Linked DNA regions of Homo sapiens: region 1 is linked to region 2. Evidence: promoter capture Hi-C in 16 types of primary human blood cells and fetal thymus (Javierre and others, 2016). All regions are on one chromosome and are shown on one strand. Each heading gives the region's core, a stretch centred on a gene start or on the middle of the fragment in contact. The rest is flanking DNA. Distances are from core to core; before and after follow the strand shown. Region 1 has its middle 140 kb from the start of CAVIN4. Region 2 holds the start of PLPPR1 (phospholipid phosphatase related 1).

Region 1 (5,295 bases), core at 139-2,638, 310 kb after region 2:
TCATGGCTATGGAGCTGCATGGTTCCTTCATGCACATGTAGCGTCGTGGTTCTCTTATGCCCACAGAGCTGCATAGTTTCCTCAGGCACATGGAGCTACCCAGTTTCCTCATGCACATGGTGCCACATGATTTTCTCAAGCTCAAGAGGCTGCATGGTTCCCCCATGCCCATATTGTTGCATGGTTTCCTCATGCCCTTGGAGCTGCATACTACCTCATGCACATGAAGCTGCATGGCTCCTCATGGCCCTGTAGCTGCATGATTCCCTTATGGCCATGGAGCTGCATGGTTCCTCATGCCCATGGAGCCTCATGGTTCCCTCATGGCCATCATACTGCATGGCTTCTTCATGCCCATAGAGCTGCATGGTTCCTTTAAGGTCATGATCCAGCATCATTCCCTCATGCCCGTGGCCATGATGAGGTACAGGGAATTTTTGCTTCATGAATGTGCCTAGTTAAGGATAGGGGATAGAGAGGGGCATGTGTGTCCTGGAGGAATATAGATAGACCTTACACTGCAAATATTCCCCTAATTTTGCTCTTCTGTCTTTCAAAGCAAACAAGCCAAAAAGATGGAGGGCATGGTTCTCAACATTGGCTACATATTAGAATCACCAGTGCTGCTCTTAAAAAGCACTATTCCCCGACCCAGCCAAGACCAATTGCAGCAGAATCTATGGTGGCATTGCCAGGATTGAAAGCAAGTAGCATAAAGGCATAACTTACAGTAAGGGACTGAAAACTTGCATGTCTGCATCAGATATGAAGGGGCTACTACCTCTTCTGTAGCCTCTCTTGTGACTCTCATTCCAGGGAGTAAAAGGGGAGGAAACTAACAATACATGAAAAGACACATAAATGTTTCATAAACTAAGCATCGAAATGAGAAGCAACGTAATGCAGGCAACTCCAAGAACACCTCTTCGACCAACATTAAACCAGTGACTTAAATCTGCCATGGAAATTGGCTAAATCTTCCACTGGTTTCACTTCTTCCACTCAGTTGTTTCTGCTACTTTTGACTTTGTTTTCTCTCTTGAGGGGATCCCTGTGGATTGTGCCAGACAGGCTTATTCTGGCTGACTCACTGCTGTTCAGAGACTTTCTAAGATTATCCCGCCTCAGTGGAATTATTCAGGGGGTTCCCAGTCCTTTCAGAGATAGCAAACCAATAAAATATTGGAATATATTATCAGGAGGCTGCTATAACATTACAATTATTAATACATTATCTTCCCACAAATAGGTCACAGGCACAAAAGCTTTGAATAGCCTGGGGCATTACTGAACTTGATTTTAGCTGGATGCCAATGCCAATGAGCAAATTTTTTTTCACTTCTCAAAATAAATGTACAGCCCAGTTTACTTAAAGAGTGAAAGATTAAAAATACCTCCTAGTTTGAGTACTGCATTCTCCTTGAGAATATAGAAAAGGAAAGTGAACTAGCAACTATTGGATACCATGTGAACTCCCTCTTGAAAAACAGAAGCTGCCATGGGAAGCTTTGGTGAAACCTGGGCCAGCTGCGTGGTGCCATTTACCATTGAGGTGCTACTAGATGAGGCATCTGTTATGGGTTGAATTGTACCCCCCAAAAAATGTTGAAGTCTTGTCCCCTAGTATCTGTGAATATATTATATTCACAGCTGGAATTATAGGCATGCGCCTATAATCCCAGCTACTCAGGAGGCTGAGGCAGGAGAATCGCTTGAACCCGGGAGGCAGAGGTTGCAGTGAGCCAAGATCACACCATTGCACTTGTTTAGAAATATGTTCTTTAAGATGATCAAATTAAGGTGAAGTCATTAGGGTGAGCCCTAATCTAATATGACTGGAGTTCTTATGAAAAGGAGACATTTGGACACAAAGACACTTACAAAGGGAAGACAATGTGAAGTCACGGGGTAAATATCTACATGCTGAGGAATGCCAGAAGCTAGCGGAGAGGCCTGGAGATGCCTCCCTCACAGCCCTCAGAAGGAACCAACCCTGTTGACACCCTAATTTCAGACTTCTAGCCACTAGAAAAGTGAGACAACAAGTGTCTGATGCGTAAACCACCCAGTTTGTTGTACTTTGTTATGGCAGCCCTAGGAAAGTAATACAGCATCCAAAAAAAAGTATTGGTTTAAAACCTAGTGAACAATTCAAAACCAAACCACAAATCCAGAGCCCTAGGTAAAAACAGGCATTCAGGGTATCATGCCAAAGAAGGCAGGTACCAGAAAGAGCTGACTAGAGAAAGTTAGAATGCTAGGGGCTGGGGTGGGATCAGGGGAGGGACCAGTGGTAAAGAAATCTCAAAGACAAAGAGGAAATAAGCTCACTTCATAAACACAGATTCAGCACCTACTGTGGGCTAGGCAGTTTCCTAGGTGCTGGGGATACAAAGGTGAGTAAGTCATACCCTGCCCACAAGGAGTCATGTGTCATCTGCCCCATTAGACTGTTGTTGATATCCTATGCCAAGATAGCAGCAAGCAGAGTAGTTTGAGGGCATAAAGGGATGGAAGATACTCACATAGCAATGTGGGTGCTTGGGGAAGACTTCCTGGATAATAGGATATCTAGACTCAATCTTGAAGAATGATATATTGGCAGGGTGGACAAAAAGAGGTCTATTTTCATAAAGAACCCAGGGGCCTCTCAGTACTGTGTTGAGGGTATCTAGGAGGATGTGATTCTTTTTAAAAAGAGAAGAGGTGGCCAGGTGCGGTGGCTCACACCTGTAATCCCAGCACTTTGGGAGGCCAAGATGGGTGGATCACCTGAGGTCAGGAGTTGGAGACCAGCCCGGCCAACACGGTGAAACCCTGTCTCTACTAAAAATACAAAAATTAGCTGGATGTGGAGGCATGCGCCTCTAATCTCAGCTACTCAGGAGGCTGAGGCAGGAGAATCACTTGAACCTGGGAGGCAGAGGTTGCAGTGAGCCAAGATCACACCACTGCACTCCAGCCTGGGCGACAGAGCAAAACTCCATCTCAAAAAAAAAAAAAAGGAAGAGGCATACCTTCACACACACACACATGCACACACACACACACACACATTCTCTCTCTCTCACACACACACACACACACACTTGCACATAAACCACCACAGGTTTGGCACCTCCAGAGCTGGAGAGCATCCACAGAAATAACCAGCAGAAGCAACAGCCACCTTACAGAGCAGAGGGGACCGTGGCCAGTGGGAGTAACTGACCCCTGTATATGGGCACCTGAGATCAGGAGAAAGGGAATAAAACCATGCACACCATGTGGAAACTGGTCGTACTTCTTCGTCATACACATGACATGCTCTGCACTGCTGCTGCCTTTGAGAACTATCAGAAAAACATAGAGAGGACTTTGCAGGGGTTCATGACAGCAAGTGGGAGCAGAGCCAGATAAATCAGAATAAAAACTTAAATAATGCGATCTCATAGTGTTGTTGTAAGAAATCAAGCACAAATAGAGCAACTGGGATATACCACCCCCAGCTCCATCTATCAATGTTTGGCCCAGCCTGCATTTGCATTTACTTTATCATCTTGTGTTAATTTGTCATCATTATCACTTACCCATATTCATTTCTTGAAAGCAACCTATTTCGGGAATGATGGTTTCTTACCACAAATGAGGCTGCTTTAATGACTTCAGTGAGTGGCAATCTAATGGGATCACTGCGGCTGCGAGCCTGAGCACAGACAAGCTCGGCAGCAGCCTCCTTTGTGCAGCAGCGCTCTGTAATTGGGTCTAATGGAGGAGTTGAAGGTTTTCTCTTTCTGCCTTCCTAATGATATTAACGTCTTCATGAGGTTAATGAAACTGCTAACCCCGGGCCAACGTGAATCGCTTCCTGTATAATATAAAAACTTTCTATTTGGAGTCTTAACGCAAGCACTAAGGATTACTATTGTTGTGATAGCTGTGTCTGTTATTGTGTATAACAGGTTTTTCCTTCTTTTCTATTCCAAGAGCCAGAATCAGAGACTACCAAGGACCTGATCGAATTCAGATTCCAGACAGTGGTGGAGGATCCCAGAGGCAGTTGGTTAAGGAGATCCTCCTGGTTGGGTCAGATCCTTTATGGTCTCTACTGCCCCCTGCTGGCCTAGGGAAGGAGGAGCGGCTCTCCAGCAACCCTTGGGAGATGGAAAGTACCAGAAGACAAAATATGAAGAAATATTCTTTATTATCACTGACTATATGCTTTTCTGTTTAATACTTACAAATTCCTATAGGGTAGGTCTTGCTACTGTCATTTCATGTATGAAGAAACCTATCCTCTAGTGGTAAGCCAACGTACCTAGAGTTGCTAGGGTGTGGGAGCGTCAGATCCAGGACAAAGTACAAGTCGGTCTGGTTTGCCACTGTTGTTTGAAGACATGGTACGGTGAAAAATGCATGTACTTTAACACCAGAGCAACTTGTGTTTTCACCTTAATTCCCTAATGTAAGAGCTATACAATGATAAAACAAGTTACTTAAAAGAGCTAAGCTCCGTTTCATCTACAAAACATGAATTATCATATCTATCTTGAAGGACTGTTGTGGGGGTTAATAACAAGGAAGGCAAAGCACAGGGCCTAGAATACAGTGGCTGCACAGTAGATGGAGGGTGGTATTGGGGCCAGAGACAGAGGGTGGAAAAGGGTAGGCCTTCCTGTGGATCTAGTGGCTCAATGGTTGCTTTATTCAGGTCCCCAGGAGGTTTTAACTCAAAGTCTGGGCTCAAAAAATATACTAGAATGCTCAGCTAATGATGCCAGCACATCTGAATAGCTCTTTATCACTTATAAACCAATTTTGTGTATATTTTATTTGATCTTCACAAATATGTACCTGTAGATGCATAAATATGCCACAGTTAGTTGAGGAAACACACAATATGCCCAGTATTATACTAAGCACATAAAATAATGGCTGGATTTCATCTTCATAACAACCCTATAAGTATTATTATTTTCTCCATTGTCTAGATGAGGAAACTGAGCCTCAGAAAGATTAAGGAAATTTCCCAGAGTCACACTGTATTAAGTTGCAGAGCTAAGACTTGAACACTGGCCCATATGACTACAGAAATCATTTCTCTCAACCATTGGGCTACACTGCCTTTTTCTGAAGAAGGGAGACAAGTATTACATTTTCACTATATAGACAAGGATATTCTGACTCGTGTAATAGTGATATGGTTTGGCTCTGTGTCCCCACCCAAATCTCATCTTGTAGCTCCCATAATTCCCACTTGTTGTGGGAAGGACCCAGTGGGAGATGATTGAATCATGGGGGTAGGTCTTTTCAATG
Region 2 (5,975 bases), core at 1,324-3,823:
CAAAATAAACTGATCTTGCAGATGAAGGAAGAGGAAATATATAGTAACAAAGCAAATAAAGAGCTCTAGTGAAAGCAAAAAATATTCTTGATCTTTTCTTGCCAAGGTTTTCAAAGAAAATGATGAGAGTGTTCACCATGGGATAAAAAGGACATATGCTGACAATTATAGTTAAATCCCCTCTATGCCAATTTCACTTGAAAATATTCCTGGAAAGGTCTTTACTTCCCTAGTTATTTGAAAATAAAACACTCAGATTTCTATCTTACTGAATACCTTTAAAATCATAAAAGCGAAACTATTTTAATAATAAGCATCCCTTTCCCAATTCCCCCCCACCCCCTGCTTCTTTTTTTCCTTTCTTAAAAAAGCTTTTCACCTTTGGCTATGCTTACTTATGAGTGAAGATCACTTTCATAAGTCATTTCTCAATTAATCTCACAAATATCATGCTTTCTCCCACTTCAAAGAAGTCACAAAATGTTAAAGATAAAAAGGTCCCCATCCCAAGCAGCAGAGAGACTCCCCAACCTGTCATCTCAAAGTGAAGAGAAGCCCTCACCCCCACCCGTGAGGAGCAGCAGGCATAAGTACTGGATCTGAGCTTCCGGAGTTTACTTCTTTCAGCATCAGCTTGGCTTCCAGATTCCCCATACACTTTTCCTAAAAATACAAGGCTCCTGACGTGCACAAGAGCCAAAAATGTACCTGTCTGCCCAACCCGCCTTTCAGGTACAACCAACACGTCAAGATGGAGAAACTTTCACACGAGGCACTTTCTAGACCTAAACAACTAATTTGTAAGTATGCTAAATGTTATCCCAGAAATAGTGAAGTCTTTTACGCTCCAGATGTGACATTCTAGACACCTCAAAACTAGCGTCCCACCAGAAGAATAGGAGCTGCCAACCATACAAGCAGAAGGGGCATAGAAATTCAGTGAAGGCTGTAGTGTACGTCCCCTCCAGTCAACCTCTTCCTGCCTTCATTAACCTCTAGTCACACCTCTCCTAAGTGACCATTATTTGTCCCTCTTCTATCTCCCTTTGTCCCAGTCCTGGACTCCTCACAGGCTGACCCAGTCTCTGCTGTTTCAAAAGGCCATTCGATTTGACGCTTTTCCCGGGTGCAGCGGGTGCACTGCACTCTGAGATCCCGCCCCAGTAGTAGAAAGGATTTTAGGAAATCCTTTTCTCAGGACCTTTTCCGTCGGGCCGAAGAGATATTCAGAACCGTGCCTGTCCACCAACTAGATAGCAGACACCACAGAATCTCTCCCAGGAAAGAGGTTGAAAGGAAAAAAACCCGACATCCCCACAAAGAAAAATAATAATCCAGAATCCTCCACATATTCCACACGTGCGTGTCATAAAACCCTTGGGAAATGGGTTGGGAGAGGATAAAGCCCCGTCTTCCCACTGCCGCCGCCGCAGCAGCAGCCCCTGTTCAGCTCCCAGCGCTGCCGCGATGGTGTGCGTGAAGACAGCACCTTCCCTGAGGAGGAGAGATCCTAGCGTCCTCCGTTCTAGGAGGTGATTATGGCAAGCCTGTCAGTAACTCATCATTTATCCCCGCACTGACCCGAGCCTCACCCCGGCGCCTTTGGCACCGGAGCTCGATGAGAAAGCCGAAGGCCGCCCCTCCAATTTTCCAGGTGACACACACACCCCACTATGCGCCTAGGACGCAGAGGGGTGGAAGGGAAGGATGACAGGTGCCCATGCCTGAGGGAAAATCAATGGCAACCCTTACAGCTTGGGGTGAGAAATCTCAACCCCCGCCCGGGTGGGAGGACTTGGCATCAGCTACCTGCAGGGCGCCTCCGCCTGCACACCCACCCAACGCGTGCAGGCTCGCGTTGCAGCCCGGAATGCAGTCAGGAGGGTGGAACGGGACGGAGGGAGCCTCCACGCCCCCTTTGTCTCCACGTTTCCCAGATGACATGGAAGGAAAGTTTATGAGCAGGGAGGTGGTAGCTTTCTGCTGGGTCAATCTGACACCTCGCAGGAGGCGACCCTCCCTGGGTTCGTCCTCTCCTCTGCACAGCCCCAGCGCCGCCTTCATCTGCACCTCGACACCCACAAGCAAGGCATGGGACACCTGCGCCGCCGGGTCCGGCCAGGAGCTTGCCCCGCGCTGCCCTACTGCCCCGGTGCAGAGACTTCCCCAGCGGCCCGGCTGCGGGCGCCGCACTCACCTCCCGCAGCGGAGCGTCCTCCAGTGCGCCCTACTGGGCCGTCCGGCTCCCGGGAGCGAGGTACATTCAGGCGGCGGTCCGAGACACGCTCTCCAGGCGCTGCTGCATTCCGCTTGCGTGGGAGAGCAAGCCGGCGAGCGAGCGGCGCGGGCGTGTACGAGTGTGTGTTTGTGCGAGTGTGTGCGCGAGTGTGTGTATGTGTGTGTCCGTGTTTGTGCGCGCGCCCGTGGGGCGGAGGTGCGCGGGATCACAGATGCCGCTGGGCGCCCATCCCGCGCTCTGCTTCCTCCGCTGCCTCCTCCTGGCGCTGCAGCTTGCACAGGGTCCAGGTTTCAGGATCTCCTGTTTGTTTAATGAAAGGAAAGAGCAAAAGGCTGGCGCGGAGGGGGCGGAGGAGGGGAGAGGCGGGGAGGGTGCCGGGCTGCGCATGCTCAAGAGAGACTCAGCTCTGGCTCCAGAGCCCAGACAGAGCAGAGAGAGTGAGCTCGGGGTAGAGGCAAGCCAGCCAGATTGCGTCCAGCGGCAGTCGCTCCGCGGGGTTCCCAGAAGGCAGCGGGGAAACCCCGCCGCAAAGGTGCGCCCTGCGCGGGGACTCCGCGGCGCATGCAGAGCTGGAAGCCAGTGGTGGGATCCCCACCCATCCTTGGAGACCGCTTCTGCCTCGAGTCCTCGGTAACGTGGGGCTGTCCTCTCCCGGTGTGGTTTTAGCGCTGGCGCGGGCGTTCCTGTGGGCCATTCTCTTGCTTTCTACCCTGCGGGCAACCGAGATGCGTCTCCCCAGAGGTCCAGGAGGAACCACAGGCTGCAGGTCGCCCCGAACTAAAATGAGTTTCCTGGTGTGTGCTTCTTTCTTCCCCTCCCAACTTCCACTCCTTTAAGAGCAAGAAAAGGCAACGTCCAGTCGGGTCCCACAACAGCTTTAATGGGGCGAGGGCGAGAAGGGGGCTAGCGATAACTCTTCCAAACAACAAAGGAGGAGTGGAAGGAAGGTGAGTCTCTGAGGACCCCATACTAAGCCTCCTTTGATGATAGGGGTAAATGGAAGAGATATTTGCCCTATTTAAGAAGGCAAAAAAAAAAAAAAAAAAGAACAATGGGTTCATTGTCCCCTTGCCTAGAATGCCAACGCAATTCTAGGTCTTTGTGAGGCCTCTGGCTATTTGGTAAAGTGGGAGAACTGTCAACTCGAAGAGAGTCCAGTAAGAGAACCTGAGCCTGCTATGGCACAGTAACCTGAGGCCAGGGGAGATGGCAGGTGAGAGTCGTTGCAAGTAGAGTGGAAACTTCTTGGATCAGATTGTTCTGTGAGCAAAACAGAATGGTTAGGATCCATTCAAGAGCTTCTATTTTCAATCTCTTCCCTGTTTAATCGTTCTGTCTCCCCACACACCACACCCCATTTTCTTTCCTACAGAAGAAAAGACATCCCAAGCAGGAAACTCCCTGTAAAGAGATTTCTACCTCCTTTTTATTCATTTTCTGTCCCTCCAGAAAAGGATAACCTTTGGTCCCCTCTGCTTTGGAGGAATAGAGGACAGCCTGCCTTGTGCAAATCTTTTCCAAGCTTTCATTAAAGATCACCTCTAAGCATTTCCACTTTACAGTGGAAGCGAGCAGATGCCTTCTTGCTGAACTCTGACCCACATACCATTCATCTTCCCAATAATAATGCCAAGTGACACTCGAACAGCAGGACAATTAGATCAAATCCTAGAGCACACCCAGAGGAGAAAAAAACAGCATGTCTAAATACCACCAACAAAAGTTTAGGAGAACAGACTTAGAGGAAGGAGAGAAAAAAAGGAAAGTTCTTAAAAAGAGAAAGTGCCCTGGGTGTAGTGGCAGGTTTATTTTCTCAGTAGATCCTTGAAAGAAGTAGAATTGCAGCATCTCTTTGCTTAAAGGACAAGTGAGAGTAAGTCTCCATCCACCAGGTAGGGGAGATCAGGTTCTCCTGAAGAGCAGCAAAGCCTCTATAGTGAACCATGTAGGGTATTTGGAGCTCCTCCTTCCATGCCTGTTTATATCAGGACTTCCCTTTGGTGCTCGGCTTCTTGGAAGGCATCCAAGATAGATCTGCCTTGTTGTCACGTTCCCCTCAGAACAGTAAACAGTGTTCACTAGAATTGCAAGGTGTTAGTATTGGTAGGGCCAATTGCTTCCTTGAGGCAAGATAGCCATTCTCTTTGCCCTGGTGCGTAAGCACAAGGTGAGTGACGGCTTTGAATTCATGAACTAAGAGGGGCTGGGGTTTACAGTTCACTCAATAGGAGACAATTCTAAGGCACTTCCTCCTACAATGATAAGTATCCAGGGTTGCCTGGCCAAGAAGCCCACTCTATCTGAGCCTGGCCTTGGGTGAGAGGGAAAGGGATACCACTCCCCTCAATGCTTAGGGACCATCTCTAAGCAGATGGACCTGTTCGCCATCTCAAAGCAGAAAGTAGCTCCAACAAGGTGAAGGGTGAAGGAGAATTTTTAAATGCAGAATTGCAAATAAAGTGAAATCTCTTTATGGTGTGTCTGCTAGGAGATGGTGAATGAGCAGTTCTGGAAGAGATTTTTACTGTTTGGGGACAGTAGGGAAAACACAGGGACATTAAGTGAGATGATGTACATAAAGCACTTAACATAGTGCCTACTGCCTAACAAGCTCTGCATAACCTGTAGCTCTTATTTTGGTTATTAATATTTTCATTATTGTGATAGTTTATTTTTTTAAAAAGGCTAAGAAGCTCTTTTTTCCTTAGCTTAAACAAGCAAAGCAGATTAAAGCCAAAAGCCTTCCAGTTTTTCCTTCTGGCTTCCTCCATCGCCCCCTCACTCATCACCCTGATCACTGATGTATTCAAATCCATGTAATGAAAAGCATGCTACAAAGATGTGTGGCAGTGTGAATGGGGAATAGCTCCAACTCTCACCCTTCCACCCACAAATCTAGACGTAAGTGTGAGATAGCTTTGTCTTTCAGTAACATGCCTCAAGCACTTTTTGCCACTCATGTCTCACAGTGATTAAGGACTCCTGCCTGGCAGGGTCTCTTGCTATAACACCCCACCTACATTGGAATACCAAGCTTTGTATTTTCACTTTTTTTTTTTTTTGCCTGCCTTCTAATTTTAGCTATCATATGTGTTACTCCTCCTAGGTAACAAAATGCCCAAAGCCAATTAATATGCACACATCTGCAGATGGTTTGAGATAAATTAATGGTAAGAATTTCAGTGGCTGCCAGTATTTTTAATGCTCCTTTATCACAGATTTCAGACTTAATACTCATCTGCTCTACTTAAAGAATAATCCCTAAACTTTGTACTTCCTTCTACCAACCAAGCAACATACCTAATGGCCTTATTTCCTATATCAGCAAAATAACCCAGCATTGTTGCCTGGATATATATGAAATTATATATTTTTTAATATTATATATATTAAATTATATATTTTATTATATTTTTATTACATATTTTATATATGAAATTTTATATTTTTAAAGAAAACTAGCTATTAAATTTTAAATAGAAGTAGCTATTCAAAACATAATATCCAAAAAAATTCTATAATTAATAAAAACAAGTAATAGATGAAAGGACTGAACATTAAATTCTCCCAAGTTATGGAAGCTATTGAGGTGTCTGGATTCTTAGAAAACTGTATTTTCTTATAGTTTTCTTTATGTTTACATATAGTTTTCTAAGAAAACTATATGAAAATTGCATTAGGTTATATATAGGTGAAGTAACATAACTCTGTCATGATATAGCATGTGCAAAGATTC

Evidence for each region. The method cuts DNA at HindIII sites, captures the fragments that hold promoters and counts their contacts. A CHiCAGO score of 5 or more calls a contact.
Region 1: a fragment that was not itself captured here is called in contact with the fragment with the promoter of PLPPR1 in region 2 in 1 of 17 cell types (M0 macrophages); the score reaches 5.5 in M0 macrophages.

The regions. Positions count from the first base shown.
Region 1 is chr9:100,713,604-100,718,898 of GRCh38, reverse strand. No RefSeq gene overlaps it. Among named protein-coding and RNA genes, the nearest start is that of CAVIN4, 140 kb to the right of the region's middle. The HindIII fragment of the contact is 241 bases long and covers 1,268-1,508 here.
Region 2 is chr9:101,025,325-101,031,299 of GRCh38, reverse strand. PLPPR1 (phospholipid phosphatase related 1) reads right to left here and starts at 2,573. Exons shown (of 8, transcript NM_207299.2): 1 at 2,198-2,573. The HindIII fragment of the contact is 3,390 bases long and covers 374-3,763 here.